Linked DNA regions of Homo sapiens: region 1 is linked to region 2. The links are contacts of gene promoters, found by promoter capture Hi-C in blood cells and fetal thymus (Javierre and others, 2016). All regions are on one chromosome and are shown on one strand. The core of a region is centred on a gene start or on the middle of the fragment in contact, and the rest is flanking DNA. Distances in the headings are between cores, read along the strand shown. Region 1 has its middle 4.3 kb from the start of TMEM161A. Region 2 holds the start of TM6SF2 (transmembrane 6 superfamily member 2).

Evidence for each region. Contacts are between HindIII fragments. The CHiCAGO score rates a contact against its expected background, and 5 or more counts as called.
Region 1: a fragment that was not itself captured here is called in contact with the fragment with the promoter of TM6SF2 in region 2 in 1 of 17 cell types (M1 macrophages); the score reaches 6.1 in M1 macrophages.

The regions. Positions count from the first base shown.
Region 1 is chr19:19,141,244-19,144,273 of GRCh38, reverse strand. No RefSeq gene overlaps it. Among named protein-coding and RNA genes, the nearest start is that of TMEM161A, 4.3 kb to the right of the region's middle. The HindIII fragment of the contact is 1,566 bases long and covers 668-2,233 here.
Region 2 is chr19:19,271,771-19,274,624 of GRCh38, reverse strand. It overlaps TM6SF2 (transmembrane 6 superfamily member 2), which reads left to right and starts at 1,324. Exons shown (of 10, transcript NM_001001524.3): 1 at 1,324-1,504. The coding sequence starts at 1,410. The HindIII fragment of the contact is 7,826 bases long and covers 1-2,854 here.

The DNA.
Region 1 (3,030 bases), core at 201-2,700, 130 kb after region 2:
CTGGCACATTCCTGTAGTCCCAGCTATTCAGGAGGCTGAGGTGGGAGAATTGCCTGAGCATAGGAAGTCGAGGCTGCAGCAAGCTGTGATTGAGCCATTGCACTCCACCGTGGGCAACAGAGCGAGACCCTATCTCAAAAATAACATCAAAAACAACGACAACATAAAAAACTGACTTCTAGCCGGGCACGGTGGCTCACACCTGTAATCCTAGCACTTTGGGGGGCCAAGGCGGGCAGATCACTTGAGGCCAGAAATTTGAGACCATCTCTACTAAAAATACAAAAATTAGCTGGGCCTCATGGCCCATGCCTGTAATCCCAGCTACTTGGGAGGCCGAGGCACGAGAATCACTTGAACTCAAGAGGTGGTGGTTGCAGTTAGCCGAGATCCAGATCGTGCCACTGCATTCCAGCCTGCACAACAGAGCAAGACTCCGTCTCAAAAAAAAAAAAAAAAAAAAAATTACTTCTTGCCTGTAATCCCAGTCCTTTGGGAGGCTGAGGAGGAAGGATGCCTTGAGCCCAGGAGTTGGAGGCTGCAGTGGGCTATTACCAGCCCACTACAATCCAGCCTGAGTGACAGAACAAGACATTGTCTCTAAAAATAACAGTAATAAAATTTAAAAGATCTGCCTCTGCCATGTTCTGCTCATCTCTTTGAAGCTTTTCCTCATCCTTAGAAGGAAGTTGGGCTCCTCAGCTGCCCTACCCTAGTCTGGCCTGGTCTCCTATCCCTGTCCCAGCCTCTCCAGTACCTTAGAAATATTTGCAGTACCAACATGTGACCCTACTGGTCTTTCCTGGAGCGCCTCCCTCAACCCCCAACTTGTCTCCTTTTTAAACTCCTTCCCACCCTCCAAGGCCCAGCTCTGCCTCTCTTCCTCCATGACGCCTTCTACACTGTCCCAAGCTGAGAAACACCTTTGTGAGTTGGAGTTCACAGATTTGGACAGGAAGACGGAAAACATGAGTGTTGAGATCAAGACTTACAAGATCCGCCTTGGCCGGGGACAGTGGCTCACCCCTGTAATCCAAATACTTTGAGAGGCTGAGGTGGGAGGATGGCCTAAGCCCAGGAGTTCAAGACTAGCTTGGGCAACATGGTGAATCCCATCTCTTAAAAAAAAAAAAAAATTAGCCAGGCGTGGCAGTGCACACCTCTAGTCCCAGCTTCTCAGGAGGCTGAGGTGGGAGAATCACCTGAGCCCGGGAAGTCAAGGCTGCAGTGAGCCATGATTGAGCCACTGCACTCCAGCCTGGGCAACAGAGCAAAAGACCCCGTCTCAAAGAGTAAAAAAACAAAAACAAAAACAGGCCGGGCATGGTGGCTCACACCTGTAATCCCAGCACTTTGGGAGGCTGAGGCAGGTGGATCACTTGAGGTCAGGAGTTCGAGACCAGCCTGACCAATGTGGTGAAACCTCGTCTCTATTAAAAATACGAAAATTAGCCGGGCATGGTAGTGTGTGCCTGTAGTCCCAGATACTCAGGAGGCTGAGGCAGGAGAATCACTTGAACCCGGGAAGTGGAGGTTGCAGTGAGCCGAAATCGCGCCACTGCACTCCAGCCTGGGCAACAGAGCAAGACTCTATCTCAAAAACCAAACAAACAAACAAACTCACCTGCTTTCCAATCACTCTGCCAAGATCCAAAGCTGAGCTGGTTGGCACAGCTCAGCCAGAATGGGCGGGGTACGTTGACTGACAATTTCAAAATCCTTTCTGTCACTCAGCGCCCCAGGGAGAGATTTCTTCAGTAAAACTGAGCACCTTGCATTTCACCCTTAGCGCACACAGTCCTAGACAAGATGATGGGCGGGACGCCTTTTAAGGGATAGGGAGACTGGACAAAGTATATAAGTGACAGAACCCGGAGGGGGCACTTGTTTATACGGCGGAGTATAGGATGCCATCTGCACCCCAGACCCCAGCTAAGGTTTGTCCTACGTCATCTTCGCCACCCTCATCCCCAGTGAGGTGGGGGCTTTGGGGCCCCAGTTTCCAGGATAGGGATATGGCATGATCAAAGTGTGTAAAAGCCCCTCCCCAGGCTCCCGTGGCAGGGGGCATTGGGAGCTGAGGGGAGGCAGTGCCCCCTGGAATGATCACTCTCTGTGTGTGCGTGGAGGCAAACCCACCAGGACTCCAGAACGGCTCGGAGGTGGAGGTGAAGGGAAGAGCGTGCCGTGGGTGACTGGAAGCTCCCATTTCATCCTCTGTGCTGTGGAAGCTTGTAGGGAATGAGACTTGGATGGGGTGAACTTGAAGCCTCTGCAGAGTGTCCAAGTGCGGCTAGAGATTTCGCTCACCCAACCCAGACTCAGGTCTTTTTTCTTTTTCTTTTCTACTTACTTATTTTTATTATTTTGTTTTGTTTTTGTTTTTTGTTTTGAGAGAGAGTCTCGCTCTGTCATGCAGGCTGGAGTGCAATGGCACGATCTCGGCTCACTGCAGCCTCTGCCTCCCAGGTTCAAGCGATTCTCCTGCCTCAGCCTCCTGAGTAGCTGGGACTACAGGCATGTGCCACCATGCTCAGCTAATTTTTTGTATCTTTAGTGGAGACGGGGTTTCACTATGTTGGCAAGGCTGGTCTCAAACTCCTGACCTCAGGTAATCCACCCACCTCGGTCTCCCAAAGTGCTGGGATTACAGGTGTGAGCCACCGCTCCTGGCCTAATTTTGTTTTTATTATTATTGGGTTTTTTTTTTTGTTTTTTTGTTCTGAGACAAAGTCTCACTCTGTTGCCCAGGCTGGAGTGCAGTGGCGGGATCTCGGCTCACTGCAGCTTCTGCCTCCCGGGTTCAAACGATTCTCGTCCTTCCCAAATAGCTCGGATTACAGGCGACTGCCACCACACCCGGCTAATTTTTGTATTTTCAGTAGAGATGGGGTTTCACCATGTTGGCCAGGCTGGTTTCAAACTCCTGACCTCAAGTGATCCTCCCACCTCAGCCTCCCAAAATGTTGGGATTACAGGCATGAGCCACTGCGCCTGGCCTATTTTTTTATTTTTGAGGCAGTGTCTTGC
Region 2 (2,854 bases), core at 75-2,574:
GAAGACCTGTGACCCAGTTGGCATCAAGCTAAGGGGCTGCGTGCAGAATGGGGCCTGAGGTAGGGGCAGTGGTTAGAATTTGTGCCAGCTGCAGACTGGGGTCCCGCAGGGCAGGCGTCAGGTGGGCATGGTTCACCTTGCTGTCTGCAGCATCCACAAGTACTCCACATGGGCCAGAGTCTGGTTGGAGGGGGTGACAAAGACAGATGGTCTCCTTATTCTCCCCCCCAATACTGTGGCCCCCTCCCAGCTGTTCAAAACCTCCCACAGCCTCTCACAGCTGTCTCGCTTCTCATCACACCCCAGCAGAACCGACCTCCTTTCCACTGCTCAGTTCCAAGCCTGAGCCACTTTCCTCCCTGCCAGGAACACCGTTCCCAAACTCTTCACCAAACTGGCTCCATCCCGATATTCTAACTTCAGCCCCCACCCGCTAGGACCCCTTCTACCCTCTCCCCGAAATGAAGAACCCTAAACCCGGGACTAGCCTGCAAAGGGACAGCCCCGGAGTCAAAGCCTCACACTTAAAGACCCCTCGCAGTGGCTCACGCCTGTAATCCCAGCTCCTCGGGAGGCTGATGTGGGAGGATCTGTTGAGCCCAGGAGTTTGAAACCAGTCTGGGCAAAAAAGTGAGACCTCTGTCTTTACAAAAAATAACTAGCTGCGCGTGGTGGTGCATACCTGTAGTCCCAACTACTTGGGAGGCTGAGGTAGGAGGATCTCTTGAGGCTGGGAGTTCAAGGAGGAGGGCCACTGCACTCCAGTCTGGGCCACAGAGTGAGACCTCTCAAAAAACAAACAAAAAAACTTCACACCTGCCTGGAAACACGTTTACATTTGTGGCCACCTTATGAAAACTCAAATCTAAGCCCACTGAAAGGCATTTTGCACCCAAGAGCTGGAGGTTGCTCCATCCGTGCGCACAGGGAATGCCGACTTGATCTTTGGGTGGGGATGGGAAACTCTGGGGAATGCAGAGGTTTAGAAGCGCAGAGTCCAGGAGAAAATTTCCTTAGAACGAAGTTGTGGAGGCAGGGGAAAGAGGGGGCACGCCAGGACCTCCAGGGCGCACCCCTTGGCCTAAGAGCAGAAGCATCCCGAGGTGTTGTGTCCCAGCCTTTGACAGTGAGGGAAACTGAGGCTGAGTAGCGGGACGGCCATTGGAGACGAGGGTGTCGATGGTGAGGGGCGAAGGGGCGGGGCAGCTGCCAGGGGGAGGGCCGGGGAGGGGCCTTGGAGGCTCCCTGGGAACACGCAGGGCGGTCACGGCGGCCTGCCCAGGGCGCAGCGGGGTCGACCTTTGTGCGGGGCGGGTCCCTGGCAGCCTCGGCCCGGACTCGCCGCCAACGAGGAGCCGAGCGCCCTGGAGAACGCGTCGGGGCTGAGCCGGGGTCCAGCAGCCGCCGCTATGGACATCCCGCCGCTGGCCGGCAAGATCGCGGCGCTGTCGCTGAGCGCCCTCCCGGTGTCCTACGCGCTCAACCACGTCTCGGCGCTCTCGCAGTGCGTGCGGAGAGGGGCCAGGGCGGCCTTGGGGACAGTGGGGGCGGGCGGGGGCGGGGAGGACTGGAGGTGGGCTGGAGGGAGGATGCGCGGTCCGCGGACCTGGCTTCTGCGAGCCCTGCGCCCCAGCTCAGCTCCGACCCGGCAGGATTGGGGTGGGCCAGAAGAACACCCCCCTCTAACCGGAAGTCCCCTTCCCGCCGGGCTGGAGGCTGGGATGCGGCCGCTCCTGGGATGTTTGTGGCCTGGGAAGAAGGAATGATGAGTCCCCACAAGCCAGAGCTTTGGAGGGTTTCTGGGGTTTTCCCAGGGATGCGCCCTGCCTAGGTTCCAAAGTCACCAAGGGTAAAAGTATTGTCCCAGATAAGGCCCCGGGTACCTGACTCCTGCTCACACACACACACACACACACACACACACACACACACCCTACTCCATTGCCTGTCTCAGGCCTGTGACTTTCCTCTTGTTCAGGGCTGGCTAACCATGTCCCTAGACTCAGTTCCCCCTACTGGTTCCCTTTCCTGGTCCCTGTCTCCTAACCCTAGATCCTAGCCCTGTGGGTCCAGCCACCGGATAGTGGGCATCTGCAAGCCCCTCGTACTTCTAAACCCAGCTCAACCCAAGCCATGGGGTGGAGAGAGTCTTAACCATGAGCCTGGCTCCCTGGGTGGGAATACCCATCTCCATCTCCTGGGATCCTGGGTGAGCCAAGTTCCTCTGGGAGCCTCAGTTCCCTCATCAGTGTAATGGGCACGATCCTAGATCTCATCTCATAGTTACGGTTAAGGATTATAAACTGTGTACAAAGATTTGTCTTGGTCTCATCTGAGTACTATAATGTCATTGTTAGATGGGGTCAGGATGGAAATCTTGGGTTCTGAGGGGATCATGAGAAAATAGGGGCCTGGAGAGTGATGGACAGAGTCTTGAGTGTGACCCTGGACAACTGGACAGTACTCCCATCCTCTCTGGGCCTGGATTTGCCCACCTGGGTTGAGGGCTGCCCAGAGACCTGGCTTCTGTTATCTATGCAACTGGTTGACCTGTCTTATCAGGTTGTGGGTGCAGATCAGGGCAGGGGTAGGGTGGAGTTAATAGAGGCATTTGGACTTTAGCTGGGAGGAGCTGGGAGCGTCAGACAATGAAGTCTACAGAACTGAGCACTCGAGACCCTGTGGCTTGGGAGCTGGGCCTGGCCACAGAGGGGCTTGACGTTGTCGAATGACTGAACAGACTGAGTCAAACACATAACAAATGATGGGATAAATGGTAAAGTCAGAAGGGGCAGGCCAGGCGTGGTGGCTCATGCCTGTAATCCTAGCACTTTGGGAGGCCGAGGTGGGCAAA